2 separate regions of the Homo sapiens genome follow, and region 1 is linked to region 2. The links are contacts of gene promoters, found by promoter capture Hi-C in blood cells and fetal thymus (Javierre and others, 2016). All regions are on one chromosome and are shown on one strand. Each heading gives the region's core, a stretch centred on a gene start or on the middle of the fragment in contact. The rest is flanking DNA. Distances are from core to core; before and after follow the strand shown.

The links. Contacts are between HindIII fragments. The CHiCAGO score rates a contact against its expected background, and 5 or more counts as called.
Region 1: a contact is called between a fragment that was not itself captured here and the fragment with the promoter of TMEM106B in region 2, in 1 of 17 cell types (endothelial precursors). The highest score is 5.6, in endothelial precursors.

What each region holds. Positions count from the first base shown.
Region 1 is chr7:11,832,329-11,838,215 of GRCh38, reverse strand. No RefSeq gene overlaps it. Among named protein-coding and RNA genes, the nearest start is that of THSD7A, 3.1 kb to the right of the region's middle. RefSeq lists enhancers at 5,341-5,880, 5,881-5,887. The HindIII fragment of the contact is 172 bases long and covers 2,012-2,183 here.
Region 2 is chr7:12,209,453-12,215,376 of GRCh38, reverse strand. TMEM106B (transmembrane protein 106B) reads right to left here and starts at 4,083. Exons shown (of 8, transcript NM_001134232.2): 1 at 3,952-4,083; 2 at 350-568. The coding sequence starts at 566. RefSeq lists enhancers at 3,366-3,882, 4,275-4,324, 3,883-4,401, 4,535-4,684 and a silencer at 3,785-4,094. The HindIII fragment of the contact is 6,470 bases long and covers 1-5,924 here.

The DNA of each region.
Region 1 (5,887 bases), core at 848-3,347, 380 kb after region 2:
AGGGGTCCAATCATTTGCAGCAGATTTTATTTTCAAACAGGTTTTTTAATGAATAAAATGGAGAAACAATGAGATTAATTTTATGTAAAACAATCTGAAATTTAAAATCTGCTCGTCCCTCATACGTAAATTTACAAACCACCAAAACAACCAAACAACCAACAAACCAACAACAAAACAGTGTCTATTAAGAAAAAAAAAAAAAAGGAAAGAAATGGGAAAGAAAAGAGAGAAGAAATACTAAAGCCGGAATTTGAAAAAACAAAAAAGTAAAATATATAGCTACTTGTAAAGATAAAAGATGAAAATTTCTGTCTTTTAATAAAGGCATACCTCAGAGTTATAGAGAAATCGGTTTCAGACTATTGAAATAAAGCAAATACAATAAAGCAAGTTATGCTAATATTTTGGTTTCCGAAGGCATATAAAAGTTATTGTTAAACTATACTATAGTCTATTCAGTATGCAATAGCATTATGTCTAAAAATGTACATAATTTTAAAATACTTTATTGCTAAAAAATGCCTATGATCATCTGAGCCTTCAGCAAATTGTAGTCTTCTTGCTGGTAGCAGGTGTTGCCTTGATGTCAATGGCTGCTAACTAATCAGGGTGGTAGTTGCTGAAGGTTAAGGTGGTTATGGCAATTTCTTAAATAAGACAGCAATGAAGTTTGCTGCATTGATGGTCTCTTCCTTTCATGAAAGCTTTCTGTGTAATATGTGATGCTGTTTGATAGCATTTTAACCACAGTAGAACTGCTTTCAAAATTGGAGTCAATCATCTCAAATCCTGCCATTGCTTTATTAACTAAATTTATGTAACATTCTAAATCCTTTGTTGTCATTTCAACGCTCTTCATAGTATCTTCACCTGAAGTAAATTCCATTTCAAGAAACTACTTTATTTGCTCATTCCTAAGAAGCAACTCCTCATGTGTTCATATTTTATCGGGAGACTGAAACAATTGAATCACATCTTTAGACTCCACTTTCAATTCTAGTGTTCTTGCTTTTTTAACTGCATCTGTATTGACTTCCTCCAGAGAAGTCTTGAACCCCTAGAAGTCATTCATGAGGGTTGAAATCAACTTCTTTCAAACCTGTTAATATTTGTATTTTGACTTCTTCCCATAAAACATCAATGCTCTTAAAGGTATCTAGAATGGTGAACCCTTTCTAGAAAGTTTTCAAGTGAGTTTGCCCAGATCCATTAGACGAATTATAATGTAAGGAAGCTTAAACCTTACAAAATATATTCCTTAAATAATGACTTGAAAGTCAAAATTACTCCTTGAACCACGGGCTGCAGAGTTGATGTTGTATTATCAGGTATGAAAATATTAATATCCTGTATATCTCCATTAGAGATCTTATTTTCTGATCAGTAGATCTCAACAATGGGCTTAAAATATTCAGTAAACCATGCTCTAAAGAGATGGGCAGTTATTCACCTTTATTGTTACCTTTATAGAGCACAGGCAGAGTAGATTTAGTACATTCTGGAGGGCCCTAGGATTTTCAGAATGGTAAGTAAGCATTGGCTTCAACTTAAAATCACCAGCTGAATTAGACCCTAACAAGAGAGTCAACCTGTCCTTTGAAATTTTAAAGCCAAGCATTGACTTCTCCTCTCTAGCTATTAAAATTTTAGATGGCATATTCCTCTAATAGAAGGCTTTTTTCATTTATGTTGAAAATTGATTGTTTAATGTAGGTACTTTCATCTGTTTATGTTGAAAATTGTTTAATGTGGCTACTTTCATCAGTGATCTTAGCTACATCTTCTGAGTAGCTTGCTACAGCTGCTTCACCTTGCAATTTTGTTGTGAACATGGCTTCTTTCCTTAAACCTTATGAAACAGTCTCTGCCAGCTTCACACTTTTCTGCAGCTTCCTCATGTCATTTGGTCTTTACAGGTTTAAATAGAATTGGGGCCTTTCTCTGGATTAGGCTTTGGTTTAAAGGAATGTTGTGGCTGATTTGATCTTCTATCTAGATCACTAAAGCTTTCTCCATATCAGCAATAAGGCTGTTTTGCTTCCTTTCATATGTGTATTTGCTAAAGTAGTACTTTTAATTTTCTTCAAGAACTTTCCTTTGCATTCACAACTTGGCTAACTGGTGCAAGAGGCCTAGCTTTTGGCCTATCTTGGCTTTTGATATGCCTTCCCTAATAAGCTTAATAATTTTAGGCTTTTGATTGAAAATGAGAGACTTGTAATTCTTCTTTTCACTTGAACGCTTAAAAGCCATTGTAGGGTTATTAATTAGCCTAATTTCAATATTCATATGTCTCAGGGAAAAGGGAGGCCCAACGAGAGAGAGATAGGGAAACAGCCTGTTGGTGGAGAAGTCAGAATACACAACAACATTCATTAATTTAGTTTGCTATTTTATATGGGCACAGTATGTGGTGCCCCAAAATAATTACAACAGTAACATCAAAGATCACAGATCACAGATCACCATAACAGATAGAATAATAGTGACAACATTTGAAAAATTATGAAAATTACCAAAATGTGATAGAGACATGAAGTGAGCACTTCATGTGGGAAAAATTATGTTGATAGACTTGCTCAATGCCAAGTTGTCACAAGCCTTAAATTTGTTAAACAAACAAACAAACAAAAATATGTGTAAAGCACAGTAAAATGAGGTGTACCTATAAACTTGGTGGGTGGGTGTCAAGGGAAGGGGAGGATAGAAAGAAGCCCAAAATAAATTTTGTCTCATCCAAATCTTGGTCAAGTGTGACACCTAGAGGTTGCACAAATAGAATTCCTTTGGGTATTTTTTATTTTTTAGGATGCAAAATGCATTTATGTGGAGAATTATTTTTAAGTTTTTATTTCAAAATGGACATCTTTAGATATTTCCATATGTAATACTATCAATAAATAACTATATTTCTTCACTTTTTTATAATTATAAAACTGTTGATGTTAAAAGTTGTTTCCCTTTCCATCAAGGAACTGAATATTTCATAATTGTTTTAAAATATTGATACTAATGACTAAAAGTCATTGTCATGAGTCTCATGAGTTGTAATATATATTTATATGTTTATGTTCTAATAAAAGAGAAAACAGATGTGTATAGGTATGTTCACATCCTTACCTCTGGAGTTTAGAAATGATAGCAAAATTAATAGAGGCAGAATAAAGACACCTATCACATGAGAGGTGATAAGTTTAGAATTTTTTCATTTCTAAATATTAAAAAAATATGCTTTGCATTTGTCATTCATTGGTTTGGAGAACTTTTATCGCACTGGCTCATTAATATTTGAACAGTTCTCCATGAAAAATGACGAACGATTTACTTCATGGCAGGCTGTACAGATGGTCAATTTAATCTGCATCCTTGAGACTTCTCATGACTAAATTTTGACATCATGTCATTAAACATTTGTGTATTATTATTTATGTCATATTCTAGGAAACAAATATTGCTATGTCTTGCTATCTCTTGCCATCTATCAGTTTTATTGATAGGATTTATCTACCTAGACACTATACCTTTCACAAAGGAACACATATCAGGATATATACATCACTTTTGTCTCCTCAGAGACCCATACATTTTTGTCCTCAAGTGCAATAATGACATTGTTATGAACAAATGTGTGGCAGGTGTGGAGACAAATGTTTATATGACTTGGATTCTCTAACCTTGTTCAGAGATATCTTTGCTGATGATTGTGTGTGTTTGTGTATGTGCATGTGTGTGTGTGACTCCTAGGCCTTGTGTACGTTGAAATTGAAAGAAGGAAACCAAATGTTGGCTATTTTGAAACAGTACTGCAGAACATATCACCATAATTGTGTATTGTAAATGGCAGCAAATTGGAACCTAGAAATTGACCCCGTATAATGCTTGAATTTGTAGCTATGATGTTTACACTCTTGACAAGTTGAGTTATTATTATACCACCATGGGTAAATATAAAGGTCAGAATCTTAAAATTTCTTTTGACAATAAGCTATTAAGTATAGTGTCGGATGGCTTTTTGAAGGGCTAGGTAAATGACCTTGCACATTAACTTAATTCCTCAGACTCTCTGTCCTCTGTTATATAATGAATTCCCACTTGGTGAATTGATTGGCGCTTCCCACGAATGCGTAGAATGGCTGCTGTTAGCAGAGTATGTCCAGTTTGAAATACTTCCTGTGCCAGAGTTAGAGGATTTCAAGGTTTAGGGCACTAACAGTAGCTGAGAAATACAAGCAGAAAGGATGGGAAAATGATTCCTTGTGGAGTGGACATGGAAATTTTCCTGAAACGACAGAACCCAGGAAGCAATAGCAGGTCCCATTTCCTTCTGTGGTGTAACTGTCAAAAGAAGTGATCCTTCAGGGAACCATACATTAGTTAAGATCAGGCTTCCTTTTTATTCCTTATCAACCTATAATCTTTTGATTGTTGCCTGTTTTTCACGAGTGAAGAAATAGTAAGCCACACTAGCTTATCTCTCCTAATCACAGACTCACAGCGCTCGGGCTCTCTGAGCTTTTAATTCCTTCTTAGAGGCCTAACAGAGCGGAAAGTAAACAAAGACCAAATTTGCAACCTTCAACGTAGCTAATTTCCTCTGATGTCAGAATACTTAAACAGGCAGGACCTGGGAATTATTTGATCAAACCCGCTTTTAATCTAATGCATGCAGAGGGGCTGTGTCTGGAAGGCTTTGCAAAATGACAAGGGTCCCAAGGGAGCCTTATGGAAGGTTTCCTCTTTCAGAAAGAGTAGCTTCCTCATCTTAAACTCTAGGGTAGCTATGTTGGAGTAAATTCATAAAAAGTAGTTTTCCTGCTTTTAAAATTTTATTTTATTTGGCTGAAAATTGCTGATGGGATAGTAGTTTTCTTTGGCTTTCCGTTTGCTGAATTTTTAATGGTTAAATGCCTACTATTTTAGCTTTACTGTGAAATGAATTAATAATAAAATATATTATTATTAGCTAAAGGGAGAAGGAGAAAGGGGAAAGCATTATCCGACTTCACACACATTCTTCTATTACTACTGGTAGAAGAAAGTGAAAACACAAAGGACAAAAGATGCAAACACATGTGGTTCCTTATTTAGATTGCGACAGGCATTTTGCTACAGTAAGAGTTAAGAAAAATCGGTGTCAGGGAAATTTTAAATGAAGAATTTACTAATTCCAAGATATCCAGACAGCATTACTGACTCAGTTTGACTCACAACTATCTGAATACTTAGAAGTAGCATATTTTTGAGGGAAAGAAGTAGATGAAGGGACAGAACTCTATACCTGAAATATAATTTTAATTTTAAGGGTTTTTTTTTTGTACAATTGTATTTATGTAATTAGGTAGCATTGCAAATACTCATTAACACTAATTCAGTTTTAAAGGCTATTAAAAGACAATTTAATTTGTCACAGAGCATCAATATTGCTCATATTTTTATTGATAATAGATTAAGTTAAAAACAACATTTAAAGAAGGGTTTAAGTGCATTTTGACAAGTCAACATTTCTGCTCTCGTGTTTTCACACCTGATCTCAAATACTGCTCCCCACACAAAGTAATTCAGAAGCCATGGCTTAAAAATAGATAATAAACACTGATGCTTTGTGTAAATACGTACTAAGAATAGCATGCCACTAGATCTAGCATTTGACTCCTTGGATGACAGTGAATATCAATGCCTGTTATTTGTCATTCTGAAATCTGCCGGGTGATGATTCTTTTTATTGGTGCATCCTTCCAAACATATTTCATCGCACCATGTGCACCGGAGTTCTTTAGGCGGGTATGTCGGAGGTGGGTGTCGCCTGGCTGGCCCCTCTCCCCTTTGCTCGCCCCCTTTCTCGCCCTCGCGCTCTCGCCTCCCTCTGCCTCCAGCCCCCTCTGCT
Region 2 (5,924 bases), core at 2,834-5,333:
TTCTAACATCTGATATAGCAAAGTAGCAAGTAACTATGATGTCATCTCTACAGATGCCAAATAGGACTAAAAGTTTTCATTTACAAGACAGTGAATATCTGCTATAATAGCAGGTGGGAATGAAAAAATACTGGAGGTAGTGAGGTGGTTTTCTTTACTGCTTTAGGAACCTTAATTAATACTTTATTTGTTTCTTTTGCATCTTTTTGACTGAAGGTAACTGATATGATGTTTCAACTTTAATTCTAAGAGTCCTCTAAAACAGGTGGTTCCTGAGACCCACAGTTTTTATAATACTTGAGCAAATACCTAAAATCATTTAAAGGGAAAACAATACAATAACACATACCCCTAGGAATTCTTCCTGTTCCCTGACAAGTAGGGCAGGTGACACTATCTCTTCCTGTAAATTCCACATATGGAAACTGAGAGACATCTCCATTTCTTCCATCTTCATTATGGACTTCACTATTAACCAGTCCATTCCTCATGTTTTCAGATGTGACTCCATCATAAGCATCTTCTTTGCTTGAATGCAAAGGCAAATGAGAAAGAGACTTTCCCATGTCTAAAGAAAAATAAAAATCTTACAGTAAACTTCAGGGAAAAAAGTACATTCAAGAACACTCTGAGATATTTACACTAATTAATTTAGAACAGTCAAGGAACAGTCAAACTCTGTAAAATATTTGAAGGGATTTATTCGGAGCCAAAAATGAGTGAACAAGGCCTGAGGCACAGTCTCAACAGGTCCTGAGAAAATGTCCTCAAGGTAGTTGGGTTACAGCTTGATTATACATTTTGGAGACAGAAATTACAGGCAGAGGCATAAATCAATAGATGTAAGGTATACATTAATTCAGCCCAGAAAAGCAGGACATTTTGAAGCAGGGGTGGAAGGCTGGGGGGTGTCCAGGTCATAGGTGCATAGGTGGATTTAAAGATTTCCTAATGGCAATTGGTTGAAACGGTTAAACTCTACCTGAGGAGTTGAAGTCAGCAGAAAGAAATGTTTGTAGTTAAGACAAGGGAGGAGGATGTGGAAGCCAAGGTTCTGATTATCTAGATGATGCCTCCAGGTAGCAGGCTTCAGAGAGAATAGTTTGTAAATGTCTCTTATTACTCCTTAAAATATTCCAGGCTCTTGGTTAAATCGCTGCTGAATTAGGAAAAGATCTGGAAAGGAAAGGGGATTCTGTACAGAATGTGGATCTTCCCCACGAGAGACAGCTTTGCAAGGCCATTTCAAAGAAATATATTTTGGGGTAAGATATTTCAATTTCTCTCAGGGCCTGCTATCTGTCGAGTGATTCTATATTAGAGTCAGGTTGGGATTTGATATCTTATTGCTACAAAGAGACTCTTGTTAGTCTTCAAATCTCTGTTTTAATTGATGCTGGTCAGTTGTGCCTGAATTCCAAAGAGAGGAAGGTACAACGGGGCATGTTCAATCCCCTCCACCCACCTTTTCATCATGGCCTGAACTACCTTTTTAGGTTTACTTTGGAATGCCCTTGACAGAGAAGCGGGTTCCACTTAGTTGGGGGGCTCAGAATTTTATTTTTGGTTTACAGAACAAACATTAAGAGAATGTTCAAACTACCTTTTGGATTATACCTTTTGGATTAGGATTATATCCAATCAAAATAATGTCTGAAACAAAGGAGCCATTTACTAGAGTCCAGAAGTGTTTTTTTAAACAAATAATGTGAAATGATGTCCTATCATGCTTATGATGAGAATGGGCTTTCAAACATTAACATTTGACAAAAGTCTACACCTGCAGGTTCTCTGAAAAGAAACATGCAGGTTTCATTTTTCTTAAAATAAAATAAAAATACATTCTACCTTTTAACTAGTTAGCACTAAAGGCAAAAATTGCTTTGGGTAGACGATAACTAGGTATTTGATGTATATCACCAAGTAACTTCAAAGTAGTACGTTTCAGCCTCTGAAAATTCACGCACCTTTGTGATAAATACAATCACCACTCTTTTCCATCCTTAAATTTCTTGCTTTAAACATTTAAACACTCGCAACAACAATAAAAAGCCCCAAAATTCCAAAATCACAGTTTTTTTTTCATTCAACAGTTGACAGTTAAAATTATGAAGCCAATGTTCCAAAATATTAAATATAAGTTACCAATACAAAGCAGCAAAATTTAGAACACTAACTTCAAAAATTTTAGGATAAGAGTATCAAAATAACAATACAAATGTAAAAATCTAAGTAGAAATAAATAATTAGTACTAGTGCCTACACAAAAATAACTTCTGCAGGTAGATAATGAAGTAACTTTATACTTAAGGTCATACCCTTTTAAAGCTGAAAAGAACTTAACAGTCATATAATACACCCTGCTGGTATTTTCCTGCTTATATCCTGAGAAAAAATAAAGTGAAAAAGTAAAACTGAAAAATAACATAATTATACTCCTTCTAAATTTGATATGTCTTTTAGCGGTTCCTAAAAATAGATTACATACATTCAGACAGATAGTATTTCTTTCAAAAATTCTCACTTATTTGATTAAACAAAACAGACATTCCAAGTAAGTCAGTTCATCCTAGAGTATGAAGAAAATTTTACTTTCTAGAACTGGCATGCCTGATAGGAGCCTGCTTGGTGGGTACAATGTGTGTTGCTCCAGTGCTGGATGCACTAAGGGCTCTGACTTCACCAGGATGTTGTGTATCAATGTAGCAAATGGCACTTGTACTCCATGAATATACACAAAATAAATACAAAGATAAAAAAATAAATAAAATTCGCATGCCATCCACTTGTTGCTGTCACTCAAATAAACAGAATTTAAAAAACTATACAAATGGTATGCAAACAAATGTAAAATGAGATTTTCACTCTTTCAAAAAAAAAAAACTATGTATTTATAAAAATCACTGCCCACATCAAAAATACAAATGATTTATGACTTCTAAAAAATCATTGTCTTAATCAACACCTGTCAGCCACAGGTAGGATAGGGAAGACTTAACATCACTGTCCCCACACACTGTAACCTTGGGGTCTATGCGGAACACTAGATGAATTGGGATCATTGGGCCTTATCAGCAAGGCCTTAAGGGCACTCTTTCTGGGATCTCAGTCAACACAGCCAGGCTGTAAGCTGCATCTTAACTGGAGCGCGTTGAGAAAAAAGACACAGAAAGGCAGACTCAAGTGGCTCTCCGTTTGAGCCTGTTTTCTGTCCTAATCTAATAGCTGCCATGATCGATTCTGCTTTAGGGTAGGTGTTTGGACAAGTGCCAGACTCTGTGAGAAACTGGGAATCCCTTGCCTTCTCTACTAGATTTTCCTTAGAGAACTGACAAGTGTAACCACTTTTATTCTTGGGAGACTCAATGGTTTAAAAAAGGGGTGCTAGACCCTCTTCTGCAACCTCTGTGGGCTCAGTGTTATTTATTATAGCGGTTCCTTAGTTTACTGAAAGTCAACATGGATATCAGACTCAGTTTGGAGAGAAAAAATATATCACAGCACTCCAATTTAAATGGCTCCTGATCTTCTGTGTAGACACTGGTTTTAGTTCTAAAAGGGCTTGAGAACTAAGGAAACAAGCGCCTTTGAAAAGCTCCATAAACAACACCTAGCACAAAGCCTACTCTGTAAAGCTGCAAAATAAGATCCCGGCACCACGGCAAGAACATTCATCAACAGCAAAAGGAAGAGGGCCACCTGGCGCTCAAGGTGTGAGGGCCTAGAGGCAACCCAGAGGTAGGGCTTGGGCCGAAGCCGAGTGTTCCCTGGCTGGGCCTCATTAGAGGCGACACAGCAACTCGATCACCAGCCCTGACCGCCGCCGTACCTGCGGCTGGCCCAGCACCCCAGCGGCCTCCCCTCCTTGTCAGGCCCGGCTCAAGCCGCGGCGCAGCCGCTCAGCCTCGCTCCGGAAGGGGACCTGGGGACTGCACGTCCGGGGTCGCTCACCGGCACGCGGGGCGCTGCGCAGTCCCGGGCTGCTTCGGCGCGGACAGGGCCGAGGACAGGGTCGTGGAGTCCACAGTCCCGGGAGCCGGGGGGTGGAGCGACCGGCCTGGAGCGCGCGGCCGCCGTAGAGCTGGGACGGGGGAGGGGTAGGATAACGACGGCATCAGCAGAGGCCAAGCGCTGCTGTAACCTGCGTCCGCGCCTGCGCAGAGCGCTCCCGGAGGGACACCCCTGGCGTGCGCGTGACGCATGCGTCCTTCTTCCTCCTGTTTGAGCCCAGAGGCGTCGATCGTGTGAGATTGTGCGCTCTTCAGGTTTCATTACCTTCGCGTCCCCCAGACTTCAAAGTGTCCACTGTAGCCACGAATTACCTAGGAACAGTCGCTCCTCCTATTTCCCATATCAGACCATTTCCTTTTGCAAAGGGTATAAATGTGCACCATCTGCCTCAGCTTTCAGCTGAGCAGCCTCCTCGCTCACGCAATGCGAGTTGTCGCTGACAGTCTGGTCCTTAGGAATGGAATAAACTGGTCCGTACACACGCCGCTGACAGCAGCAAAGCTACCTCTATTTTAATTTAGAAACTGGCCAACTAGAAGGAGACAGCAAGCGGCAAGGCCGTAGTTTTTGTTTTTGCTCGGTTTCGTTTCGCTTTGCCCACGCTGCCCCTCCCCACCCCTTAACTCTGGTGCTAGTTACAGGTGTGTGAAATCCCGTCTCGGATCCCAGTACTTAAGCTCTTCGCTGTGGGTTGGGGCTGCCCTCCCCCAACGTCTAGGTCATTTCACTTAGAAGATAAGAACAACGACAAGGAGTCGTTTTGAGGGATCAATGAGATGCCGGTAATAATATTAAGGGCACTCTAGTCTCATTCCTGCGGAGAGTTTAACGTTTAATGAATGGTAGGCATTCTTACAGTCACAGGAGCAAGGAAGTGAGAGTCATATATTTCTCTCTTCTAACAGGATCAGTGTGATCCTGTTAGAATCAGGGAATTCTAACAGGAATTGGGAAATGAAGCTATGTAAAAGTAGGAAATACAAGTCAGAACGATATACAATTTAAGAGGATTACTGTAGATCCATATGTGAGATAATGAGCTTTCTCATACAATGTTGTCGGAGATTTAAAACTCCTAAGTTTTCTGGCAGACAGTCAGTATGTATCAAGACTATTAAAATGTTCACATCGTTTGGTCCAGCAATTCCACCCTTTCAGAAGTATCCTAAACCTAATGAGAACTCTAAAAAGATTTGGGTATGAGGTGTATCCATTTAAATAAACTGAATGTCCAACAAGGGACATTGATAAAATCATTATTTTTCAACCGCTTTTATTTAGCCCATATTTTCCAAAGGGAAGGGTCAGGGTGTCTTCCATTAACACTGTTTGAAATTTCAAAATTAATAGGTTGGTTAAAACAAATCAGAATCATGGGGGAAAATTTTTCTCAAAATTATTGACAGTCCACCTGTGGAGATATGATGTTCCCCTTGGAATTACTGAGTTTTTAAAATTATGGAATAGCCATCTATTGAGTTTTTATAAAGCCAGTAAAAACCATCTTATAAGGCTGTTATACGCGGAGTGATATAAAATTAAAATCAGGATGCAAAGTATAGGATATGAGGTATTGTAATAGGATGTAAACTATATTCACATATAGATAACATATAGATATAAATATATTACATATCTGCCTTGAAATGGAAAGAAATATACAAAATATAAACAGTTGCCTGTAGTTTGAGAGCATGGATGTTTTTTCTTTATTATTGTTAAATAGGCAAATGGTTCTATAATGTAATATATATTATTCTTAAGTGAAAAAGTTACTTTTTTCTTTAATTCTTAAGGGAGTATTTAGTATTTTCTCAACCTCATCATTTAACTTAAAACGTGCTGGCCATATAGCACAGTTCCTTATCCAAATTCCTGGAATTCACATAGGAATAAGTCTTCCTGGGAGAATG